2 separate regions of the Homo sapiens genome follow, and region 2 is linked to region 1. Evidence: promoter capture Hi-C in human tissues and cell types (Jung and others, 2019). All regions are on one chromosome and are shown on one strand. The core of a region is centred on a gene start or on the middle of the fragment in contact, and the rest is flanking DNA. Distances in the headings are between cores, read along the strand shown.

Region 1 (5,888 bases), core at 3,345-5,844:
GCCACGTTGTGAGCTTGTGTCTGGAATTGGTTCCTTCTGGTGGGTTCTTGGCGTCGCTGACTTCAAGAATGAAGCCATGCACCCTCGCAGTGAGTGTCACAGTTCTTAAAGATGGTGTGCCTGGAGTTTGTTCCTTCAGATGTTCAGATGTATCTGGAATTTCTTCCTTCTGGTGGGTTTGTAGTCTATGCTGAGTTCAGGAGTGAAGCCACAGACCTTCGCGGTGAGTGTTACAGCTCATAAAGATAATGTGGACCTATAGAATGTGCAACAGCAAAATTTATTGCAAAGAGCAAAAGAACAAGGCTTCCACAGCATGGAAGGCGCCCTGAGCCAGTTGCAGCTGCTGGCTAGGGTGGCCTGCTTTTATTTCCTTATTTGGTCCCACCCACATCCTGCTGATTGATCCATTTTACAGATAGCTGATTGGTCCATTTTACAGAGTGCTGATTGGTCTGTTTTACAGAGTCTGATTGGTCCGTTTTTACAGAGAGCTGATTGGTGCGTTTACAAATCTTTACCTAGACACAGAGCGCTGATTGGCGTGCTTACAATCCTTTAGCTAGACACAGAGCGCTGATTGGTGCATTTACAATCCTTTAGCTAGACAGAAAAGTTCTCCAAGTCCCCTACCTGATTAGCTAGACACAGAGCACTGATTGGTGTGTTTACAAACCTTTAGCTAGACACAGAGTGCTGATTGGTGCATTTACAATCCTTTAGGTAGACAGAAAAGTTCTCCAAGTCCTCACCGGCCCAGAGGCCCAGCCATCTTCACCTCTCAAGCTGTCTGTAGAGGTCCACGTGTCAAGAAAACTGAGGACAGAGGCCCTCAGTCCAGTTCCCACAAGCAACTGCATCTCCCCAACAGCTGCCTGAATGAGTTTGGAAGCAGTCCTCCCACCATTCAGCCTTCAGATGAAACTGCACCCCTGGCTGACAGGCTGATTGCAGCCTTATAGCAGACCTTAAGCCTGAGACATTCGACCCACAGAAAAGGTGATAATTTTGGTCTTTTTTTTTCTAAACAGGTTCTTGCTCTAGAGTGCAGTGGCACGATCATGGCTCACTGCGGCCTCTACATCCTGGGTTCAAGTGGTCCTCCCACCTCAACCTCCTGAGTGGCTGGGACTACAGGTTTGTACCACCATGCACAGCTAGTTTTTCTCTTTTTTTCTTCTTTTTGTAGGTACAAGGGTCTCCCTGTGTTACTTAGGCTGGTCTCAAATTCTTAGGCTCTAGCAATCCTCCTGTCTCAGCCTCCCAAAGTGTTGGGATTACAGGCATGAGCCACTGCACTGGGGCAATGTTGGTCTTAGGCTAATTATGCAGCAGGAGATACATGCACTGTGCTTTGGGAATTGAAGTCACTTCTATTTCTTTGTGGCTTCATCAGTAATATGGGGCAGGGGGCACGGTTCCCACAGCTGATTCTTGAGTGTTCTTTCTGAGTATCCTTAATACTTCACACACTATCATATATCTGAACTTTGTTCATTGATTATCTCCCCTTTAATTTTCATTCCTTGATGAATCTCCAGGGTCTGGATTAAGTCCTAGGATACTTTATGTACTCATGAAATCTTCAATGAATGAAGAAATGATTTTTTTTTTTTTTGAGACAGAGTCTCACTCTGTCACCCAGGCTGGAGTGCAGTGGCATGATCTTGGCTCATTGCAACCTCCACCTCCCAGGTTCAAGCAATTCTTCTGCCTCAGCCTCCTGAGTAGCTGGGACTACAGGCATGCGCCACCATGCCTGGCTCATTTTTGTATTTTTCAGTAGTGACAGGGTTTCACCATATTGGCCAGGCTGGTCTTGAACTCCTGACCTCAGGTGATCCACCCACCTCAGCCTCCCAAAGTGCTGGGATTACAGGTGTGAGCCACTGCATCCGGCGGATTTTTTTTTTTTTTTTTTTGAGACAGGGTCTCACTCTCTCGTTCAGGCTGGAGTGCAGTGGCGTGATCTTGGCTCACTGCAGCCTCCACCTCCCAGTTTCAAGTGATTCTGGTTCGGCCTCCCAAGTAGCTGGGACTACAGGTGTGTGCCACCATGCCTGTCTAATTTTTGTATTTTCACCACGTTGGCCAGGCTGGTCTCAAAACTCCTGACCTCAAGTGATCCGCCTGCCTCAGCCTCCCAAAGTGCTGGGATTACAAGAGTGAGCCACCATGTCTGGCCTGAATGAAGAAATAATTTTTTAAAGAGTGTTTTAAAGTGGGGCCGGGTGCGGTGGCTCACACCTGTAATCCCCACACTTTTGGAGGCCAAGGTGGGTGGGTCACTTGAGGTCAGGAGTTTGACACCAGCCTGACCAACATGGTGAAACCCCATCTCTACTAAAAATACAAAATTAGCTGGGCATGGTGGCAGATGCCTGTAATCCCCGCTACTTGGGAGGCTGAGGCAGGAGAATCACTTGAACCCGGGAGGGGGAGGTCACAGTGAGCTAAGATCGTGCCATTGCACTCCAGCTTGGGTGACAAGAGCGAAACAATGTCTCAAAAAAAAAAAAAAAAAAAAAGAAATTGCATTTCAAAGCCAGGTGCAGTGGCTCACACTTATAGTCACAGCTACTTAGGAGGCTGCGGTGGGAGAATAGCTTGAGCCCAGTTGTTCAAGGCTGAGTGAGCTGTGATTGTGGCACTGCACTCTAGTCTGGGTGACAGAGTGAGACCCTGCCTGTAAAAAAAAAAAAATCTTTCAGGCCAGACGCGGTGACTCACTCCTATAATCCCAGCACTTTGGAACGCCGAGGCGGGTGGATCACCTGAGGTGGGGAGTTCGAGACCAGCCTGGCCAACATGGACAAACCCTGTCTCTACTAAAAATACAAAAATAGCCGGGCATGGTGGCACATGCCTGTAATCCCAGCTACTCGGGAGGCTGAGGCAGGAGAATTGCTTGAACTCGGGAGGTGGAGGTTGCAGTGAGCTGAGATTGTACCACTGCAATATGAGACTCCATCTCAAAGAAAAAAAAGAAAAAAAAAAAAAGATAGCATAGCAATGGCTGTGGGCCTGGATACAAGTCTTAGCCTCTCCACTTCTCCACTTCCTGGCTCTGTAAGCCTTAGACAAGTTCCTTAACTCCACACTTCCATTTCCATGTAACAAGGGGTTATAGGCCAGGCATTGGTGGCTCATGCCTGTAATCCCAGTGCTTTGGGAGGCCAAGGCGGGAGGATACTTGGGGACAAGAGTTCAAGACCAGCCCAGGCAGCACAGTAAGACATTGGCTCTAGAAAAATAAAAATAAAAGAAATCATCCAAGAATGGTGACTTGCCTACTATTCTACTCGAGAGGCTGAGAGGGGAGGATTTCTTGAGCCCAGGAGTTTGAGGATGCAGTGAGCTATGATCACATCACTGTACTTCAGCCTGAGCAACAGCAAGATCCTGTCTCAAAAAATTAAATTAGGCTGGGCTTGGTGGCTCATGCCTGTAATCCCAGCACTTTGGAAGGCCATGGTGGGCAGATTGCTTGAGCCCAGGAGTTTGAGACGAGGCTGGGCAACATGACGAAACCCCGGCTCTACCAAAAAATACAAAAAATTAACTGGGCATAATGGTACATGTCTGTGGTCCCAGCTACTCGGTAGGCTGAGGTGGGAGGAATGCTTGAGCCCAGGAAATAGGGGCTACAGTGAACCAGGATCATGCCAGTGCACTCCAACCTGGGCAACAGAGCAAGACTCTACCTCAAAATAATTATTTAAAAAAATGGATTAATTGGGCATAGGTGGCTTGTGCCTGTAGTCCCAGTTACTCAGGAGGCTGAGGTGGGAGGATTGCCTGAGTCTAGGAGGTTGAGGCTGCAGTGAGCCGGGATGGCACCATTGCACTCCACCTGGGCAACAGGGTGAGACCCTGTCTCAAAAAAGAAAAAAAAGGGAGGGGTTATAATCACTCCTCCTGACATGATACAGAGTATCCATTTGAGTTCATAACATAAATATGTACTTGGTGAATGCTCTGTAACTATTGGCTTTTTTATTGTTCCCATTTTACATATAAGGAAGCTGAGGCTTTGTGAGGAGAAATAGCTTAGCCCAGGTCATCCAGTGGGAAGCGTCTGGTGCAGAGGAATAGTGATCATGGTGGGACTTTGCCTAGCCTAAGGTTCAGCATACAATATTCAGTCAGTACTCAAGGGCTGGGCTGTTTCTGGTAATCAAAGGGCTGCCTTGTTCTCCTGCCCCACAGCACAGGAAATTCCAAGGTGGTTTTCTTTACAGGCTCCTCCGCTTCTGTGGCCAGAGGGGACAGCGGAGGAGCCCAGGTACCTAAGCCAACTCAAGAGAAGATGGAATTGAATATTTCAACCACCTTATCTAGGCCTCTGTGATTGTTGAGGAGGGGGCTGTCACTGGGAAAGTTGTGAGCTGCTTTGGACCTTATCTGGGAATTTCCTTGGGCTTACAGCCTTTACCCTATCCTTGAAATGGTTCTGGTTTCATAGCAACTTCTAGGTGGTGTGGGCGAAGTTTGGGACTGGTTTAGGGCGGGGACAAGACCAAGAACACAAGTTTCCTTGTACTACGGGAGAGAGGGAGGGGAGGAAATTGGAGACCCCAGCACCCCCTTGCTCACTCTCTTGCTCACAGTCCACGATGGCCCGGTCCCTGGTGTGCCTTGGTGTCATCATCTTGCTGTCTGCCTTCTCCGGACCTGGTGTCAGGGGTGGTCCTATGCCCAAGCTGGCTGACCGGAAGCTGTGTGCGGACCAGGAGTGCAGCCGTAAGAATGGGGAGGGGAGAATTGGGGGCTTGGGCGTTAGCCTGTGTGGAGGGTGCTGCATTCCCTTCTATTCCTTCCCTAGACCCTATCTCCATGGCTGTGGCCCTTCAGGACTACATGGCCCCCGACTGCCGATTCCTGACCATTCACCGGGGCCAAGTGGTGTATGTCTTCTCCAAGCTGAAGGGCCGTGGGCGGCTCTTCTGGGGAGGCAGCGTGAGTCTTGGGAGAGTGAAAGAGGGAAGGGTACAGAGCTGGGGTAGACTCATTATCCCCATGAAGGGAAGATTTGAGGGGGGTGAACTGAAATAGACATTGTGGGGGGATATTGTTACTTACTTTATTTTATTTGCTTATTATTTTTTAATTTTTTCCGAGACAGAGTCTTGCTCTGTCACCCAGGCTGGAGTGCAATGGCACGATCTCGGCTCACTGTAACCTCCACCTCTTGGGTTTAAGCGATTCTCCTGCCTCAGCCTCCCAAGTACCTGGGATTACAGGCATGCACCACCACACCTGGCTAATTTTTGTATTTTTAGTAGAGACAGGGTTTTACCATATTGGCCAGGCTGGTCTTGAACTCCTGACCTCATGATCTGCCCGCCTTGGCCTCCCGGAGTGCTGGGATTACAGGTGTGAGCCACTGCCCCCCAGCCTATTTTCACTTTATTTACCAATTTTAGGACCTGATATGGTCCCACGTTCTGTTCTAGACACCAAGATACAACAACAAATGATCCTTTTTATTCTAATGGAGGGAAATGAACAAAAAGCAAGGCATAAAAAATAGCAGCAGCCGGGCACAGTAGCTCACACCTGTAATCCCAAGTAAGGCCAAGTTGGGAGGATAGCTTGAGCCCAGGAGTTCGAGACCAGCCTGGGCAACATAGCAAGACCCCCATCTCTATAAAAAAAAATTTAAAATTAACTGGGCTTCATGGCATGTGTCTGTGGTCCCGGCTACTCGGGAGGCTGAGGTGGGAGGATTGCTTGATCCCAGAAGTTGAGGCTGCAGTGAGCCGTGATCATGCTACTGCACCTCAACCTGGGCGACACAATGAGACCCTGTTTCCAAAATAATAATAATAATAAAAGCAAATATGCGCTGCTGTGAGAATTAACAGAGACTTACTTGGGTGTTCAGA
Region 2 (6,113 bases), core at 201-2,700, 620 kb after region 1:
AAACCTTAGTTATGCCTGAATCTTTTTCCTCGCACTCAAACCAAACTATACGTAAGTTTTGTCCGTATTACTTTCAAACTACATCCAGAATCTCATCACCTCCACTACTCCTGCTCTGGCTGGAGCCACCATCACCTCCCTGTTTTCCCCCATACTCCCCACAATCAACACAGCAGCCAAATTTTGTTAAAATGTATTGGGGCTGGGCGTGGTGGCTCATACCTGTATGAGCACTTTGGGAGGAGGATTGCTTGAGCCCAGGAGTTCAAGACCAACCTGGGTGACATCGTGAGACGCTGTCTCAATTTTTTTTTTTTTTGAGACAGAGTCTTGCTTTGTCGCTCACGCTGGAGTACAATGGCACGATCTCGGCCCACTGCAACTTCTGCCTCCCAGGTTCAAGTGATTGTCCTGCCTCAGCCTCCCGAGTAGCTGGGATTACAGGCGCCCGCCACCATGCCTGGCTAGTTTTTGTATTTTTAGTAGAGACAGGGTTTCGCCATGTTGGCCAGGCTGGTCTCGAACTCCTGACCTCAGGTGAGCCACAGGTCTTGGCCTCCCAAAGTGTGGGGATTACAGGCGTGAGCCACCGCCCCCGGCCTCCCGTCTCAAACGTTAAAGAGAAATATTCTTGGAGTTAATCTACTTCTGAGAGTTATTTAGCTAGGAAAAGGGGATATTTGCTCTATAGGTAAGACTTGCCCTAATCTTTTTTTTTTTTTTTTTTTTGACTTGCCCTAATCTTAGGGATATTTACTTGTGTGGAGAGATGCAGTGAGGTAGCGGTGGGGATGTATTTCTCAACCCAGCGCAATGACATTATCTTCAATTTGAGGAGTATTTACGTGGGTGAAAGATCCGCCACAGTCCACAGTATGCAAATAGACAGGTTTGCTTCAGTCCGGGATGCAAGGACCTAGAGGGTGTGTGTGTGGGGGGTGGGGGTGGGAGGGTGGAGGAGGAATCGAGTTAAGGGGGATATTTACCCTGGCGAGGTGATTTTCCCTATTCTGAAATATCAATTCTTGGGCGGACAGTCTGCCCCTCCTCTCATTCTCAGAGATAGTTACAAAGATGGAACTATCTTCTCCTTTCTAGTCGTGAGGGAGAGATGTGTGTATCCCTGCGTATTTAGTAGTATTCAATCGGACAAGAAATCATGCATCAACGCAGGAGTGACATTTACCAGCTGGTATCGTGAGGAGGTGGGCACTCGGTTGCACAGTACACGGTAGTCCCTCTCCAAAAGAAAGACCTGGGTGAAGTTCTTACCTTGCAGGAAGGAAGCAGAGCCATCTGGCCGCGACAGCAGGTTCTGTTCGCAGGCAAAGTGCCGGAGGCTGCAGCCAGGACCCCGAGGGCTGGACCCTGTTCCATTTTCAGCACGGATTTTGGCGTCAGTATGCGTCTCCTCCTCCATCGCGCCGAGCCCACGTGCGGCTGCAGTTGTCACTTCCGCCTGGCAGCGCGCGCCGCAAACAGGCTGCGTAACCAGTGCGCACGCGCCGGGCTGGGCCATCCTCCTGGGCGTCCGCACGTGGCTTAGCGTTTACCAACAATCTGGCTCCGCCCAGTCCCACCTCCTAACTCTGGCAACGCCATTGGACATTTGGGAACAGAAGGCAGGCCTTGGCATTGATCCGCTTTACTCTGGGCCCCCGGGCCCTAAATCCCTGAGGCCCTGGTCAGGTTGCCCTCTTCTTTGCCTGTTACAGGAGTAACTACAATGAGGCGATTGGAGAAAATTTTGGGTAGATAGATTTTTTTTTCTCCAAATCTCTGTGCATTCTATCTACCACAGAACGGGAAGAAGATGGTTTTCTTGTCAGATGGTGCTGGAGTTTGCGTCAGGCACATAAAGAGGCAGCCCCGAATCTAGCCTACGTGAGTGCCGGACCGCTGAGTGGTTGTTAGCCAAGATGGCGGTAGCGATCGCTGCAGCGAGGGTCTGGCGGCTAAACCGTGGTTTGAGCCAGGCTGCCCTCCTGCTGCTGCGGCAGCCTGGGGCTCGGGGACTGGCTAGATCTGTGAGTACCTGGGCCCCAGGCGGTTTTCCCAAAGGGGATTAGGGATGTAAAGGCTATCTTCAGAGTGTGGGGTCCCTGAAGGATATGAAGGAAGGGCTGTCACAAAAGGGAAAAAGAGTGGGAGACTCCTTGGAGAAGACACCGAAGGGAAGATCTGCCACTTCCTTAGGAGACGAAAAGAACTTCCACTTCTTTAGGAGAGGAAAAAACCCGTTTGCAACTTCTTTGTGGGCCCTGAGGGAGACGACTTGAAGAGAGAGATGGGGGTTCCTTATTAGCTGCCACTGGTATTCAGGGGAGGCTCCTTGGAGGAACAGGGGAAGACCGCAAGACCTTCTCCCTCAGGGTTTGGAGAATGAAACTGACTTTGTAAGGGAGGGACTTTCTTCTGGGCAAAGATCCCTCTTCAAGAAGAAGAAAGAAGAGAACAGGTCCCTGTCACAGGCTGCATAGGGCCTTGTATTTCTTTGCTCCTTTGCCACAATTCTGATTTTAAAATGAATTGTGTAAAAAATTTGTTTGATTCCTGTGTCTCTTGATCGAATATCAAGACAGAGAATTCGTGTGTTCTGGACACTGTACAGAGGAGACGATTAATATTTGTTGAATTAATGAGGGGAAAAAAGGAGGGAGAGAGGTACAGACAGGGCACTTTGCCCACATTTCTTAGAAACACTTGAGAAGGCTTTGTTTCTTGTCAAAAGGGTCACAATCCCTTCAGGTGGATGCTGCTAAGGGCAAGATTACACTGCAAAAAACCTAGGTGGAAGCCTATCTTTAGACGGGGAGAGGCAATGGGTTGCAGAAGAGCTTTGAACTACAGTTGACAGATAGGAGAGTAGTGGTTACATGGGTGGATGCATGTCCTTGCTCTGCCGCTTTCCACTTGTGTAGCCTTGGCCAACGGACTGCACTTCTCTGGATCTATGGAGCTAATTTTCCTCTCTAAAATATTAACAGTGGCCACCTCATAGGGCTGTGAAAAATCAATATGTAAAATGCTAAGGACTGGACCTGGCACATCCTAAGGGCAATAGGAATGTTGATAGTGAGGGTGGAGGGAAGGGACAGAAACTAACCTTGGAGATGGGGAGAAGAAAGGGGTGACCTTGGGAAGGCCTGGATTGGTGAGGCCCTGGGGAAAAAAATCTGAAAAGATATTGTGAGGTTGAGTCTGATCCTCTGATCCCCAATCCATAAGGAGGGGAAGATGGAATCTGTAGAAAGAAGCTCTGGGTAGGGGAACAAACGGGAGGAGGGTGAAGAAGATGGGCCAGGAGTAGGACGTAGTAGGTATCTAGGAACGGAGTCACTTGAAACAGGTAAATACAGAAGGGCTGCAGGAGCAAGGTGTGGGTAGGGCAGTCTCTTGCCTTTGGGCTGGAGACCTTTTCACTTTTTTTTTTTTTTTTTTTTTTGAGCAGTTCATATCCTCCACAGCTGATCTCAGTCCCAGGGGCCCATTGGCTGGGCAAGTGGGGCAGGAGGTGGGCAGGACTGGGGCAGGCTAGGGAAAGGTCATTTATGGCTGATTAAATCTTTCTCTCCTGTCTCAATCTCTTGATTACCTTTCCTCTTGCTTCCCCTACTTCATTTTTGGTGGGGAGTGGGGAGGGAAGAAGTCCCTACTTTTTATTTATATATATTTAAATTTGTATTATCTTAAGAGTTATTGTTTTTTCCCCTTTATTTCTCCCACCTGTTCTTTCTCTCTTCTTCTTTCTTTCCTCTCCTTCTCCTCTCCTCTCCTCCCCTCTCCTTTTTCTTTTCTTTTCTTTTTCCCTTTCCTTTCCTTTCCTTTTCTCTTCTCTTTTCTCTCTCTCTTTCTTTCTGTACCTCTCTTTCCTTTTTCTTTTTTTTTCTTTTTTGAGACAGAGTTTCACTCTCTCGCCTAGGCTGGAGTGCAGCAGCATGATCTTGACTTACTGCAATCTCTGCCTGCCGAGTTCAAGCAATTCTCCTGCCTCAGCCTCCCTAGTAGCTGGGATTACAGGCATGCACTATCACGCCTGGCTAATTTTTGTATTTTTGGTAGGGACGAGGTTTCACCATGTTGTCCAGGCTGGTCTCGAACTTCTGGCCTCAAGTTCCGCCTGTCTTGGCCTCCAAAAGCATGAGCCACTGCGCCTAGCCTTTTCTTTTTTTGAGACAAGGTCTCACTCTGTCACCCAGGCTGGAGTGAGTGCAGTGGTGTGATCATGGCTCACTGCAGCCTCAACCTCCTGGGCTCAAGCAATCCCCCCACCTCCACCTCCTAAGTAGCTGGGACCACAGGCACGTGCTACTACGCCTGGCTAATTTTTAATTTTTTTTTTTTTTTTTGAGACGGAGTCTTGCTCTGTCACCCAAGCTGGAGTGCAGTGGCACGATCTCGGCTCACTGCAACCTCCACTTCCCAGGTTCAAGTGATTCTCCTGCCTCAGCCTCCCAAATAGCTGGGACTACTGGCGTGCGCCACCATACCCAGTTAATTTTTGTATTTTTAGTAGAGATGGGGTTTCACCATGTTGACCAGGCTGGTCTTGAACTCCTGATCTAAGGTGATCTGCCCGCCTCGGCCTCCCAAAGTGCTGGGATTACAGGCATAAGCCACTGTGCCTGGCTGCGCCTGGCTAATTTTTAAATCTTTGTAGAGATGGGGTTTTGCCATGTTTTCCAGGCTGGTCTTGAACTCCTGGACTCAAGCGATCTTCCTGCCTCAGCCTCCCAAAGTGCAGGATGACAAGCGTGAGCCACCTTGCCTGGCCATATTATTAAATTATCATGAGTTTAAGTTTAAGTAGCCACAAGTGGGCTGGGTGCGGTGGCTCATGCCTGTAATCCCAGCATTTTGAGAGGCCAAGGTGGGCGGGTTGCCTGAGGCCAGGAGTTCAAGACCAGCCTGGCCAACATGGTGAAACCCCATCTCTACTAAAAATACAAAAAAATTAGCTGGGCGTAATGGCGTGTGCCTGTAGTCCCAGCTACTTGGGAGGCTGAGGCAGAAGAATCGCTTGAACCTGGGAGGCGGAGATTGCAGTGAGCCGAGATCGCACCACTATACCCCAGCCTAGGTGACAGAGCAGCCCTCTGTCTCAAAATAAGATAGCCACAAGTGGTTGGTGGCTGCCACATTAGATGGTGCAGGGTTTTTGTTTTGTTTTGTTTTTTGTTTTTTCGAGGTGGAGTTTTGCTCTCATTGCCTAGGCTGGAGTGCAATGGCATGATCTTGGCTCACCACAACCTCCTCTTCCTGGGTTCAAGCGATTCTCCTGCCTCAGCCTCCCGAGTAGCTGGGATTACAGGCATGCACCACCATGCCTGGCTAATTTTGTATTTTTAGTAGAGACAGGGTTTCTCCATGTTGATCAGGCTGGTCTTGAACTCCCGACCTCAGGCGACCCACCCACCTCGGCCTCCCAGAGTGCTGGGATTACAGGTGTGAGCCACCATGCCTGGCTAAGATGATGCAGTTTTATCCAGGTGGAGATGAAGAAATAGTCAGGGAAAGGTTGAGAGGCTGCATATTGTAGACAGATTGGATTACTGGGTTCACTGGGGAAGATTGGATTAGAAGGAGGAGTGGGGCTGCTTTACTTGTCCCCGACTTCTTGCCCCTGCTCTGCCCACTCCTTCATTGAATACCCTGCTGCCCTGCAGATGTGTTTGCCTGATTTTCACCTCCCTTCCTGTCTCTGTTATCATAGCAGACGTTTTAGTGCTCAGGGAAAGGAGGAGGAAGGAAACTCAGATTGTCAAGGAATTGTGAGTCAGTTTCTCAGCCACTACCCCAGGCCTGGGCTTGGCTAAGTCATTTCACCTCTCTGACCCTAGCTAGTGGGGTGAATAGAGTCCCTACCCTGTTGGAAGTCAGGAAGCCCCTGGAGCTCGCTCTGTGCTAATTATCGGTGACTATTTCTGTGACCCAGCTCTTCAGGGGCAGCCTGTCTGGGGGTTCCAGTGCCCTGTGCAGTATCTCCAAGTGGTAGGTACTCAGTGTATGTATTAGTCCGTTTTCAGGCTGCTAATAAAAACACACCCAAGACTGGGTAATTTATAAAGAAAAAGAGGCTTAATGGACTCACAGTTCCACATGGCTGGGGAAGC

The links. The method cuts DNA at HindIII sites, captures the fragments that hold promoters and counts their contacts. A contact is called where the count stands out against the background at its distance.
Region 2: the fragment with the promoter of EXOSC5 here is called in contact with the fragment with the promoter of MIA in region 1 in 1 of the 25 tissues and cell types used here (spleen).

The regions. Positions count from the first base shown.
Region 1 is chr19:40,770,927-40,776,814 of GRCh38, forward strand. MIA (MIA SH3 domain containing) reads left to right here and starts at 4,595. Exons shown (of 4, transcript NM_006533.4): 1 at 4,595-4,743; 2 at 4,826-4,959. The coding sequence starts at 4,617. MIA-RAB4B (MIA-RAB4B readthrough (NMD candidate)) reads left to right here and starts at 4,611. Exons shown (of 10, transcript NR_037775.1): 1 at 4,611-4,743; 2 at 4,826-4,959. The HindIII fragment of the contact is 14,863 bases long and covers 1-5,888 here.
Region 2 is chr19:41,395,909-41,402,021 of GRCh38, forward strand. EXOSC5 (exosome component 5) reads right to left here and starts at 1,451. Exons shown (of 6, transcript NM_020158.4): 1 at 1,273-1,451. The coding sequence starts at 1,420. BCKDHA (branched chain keto acid dehydrogenase E1 subunit alpha) reads left to right here and starts at 1,910. Exons shown (of 9, transcript NM_000709.4): 1 at 1,910-2,027. The coding sequence starts at 1,920. RefSeq lists a silencer at 1,374-1,662 and enhancers at 1,421-2,093, 1,659-1,938, 2,094-2,765. The HindIII fragment of the contact is 15,471 bases long and covers 1-6,113 here.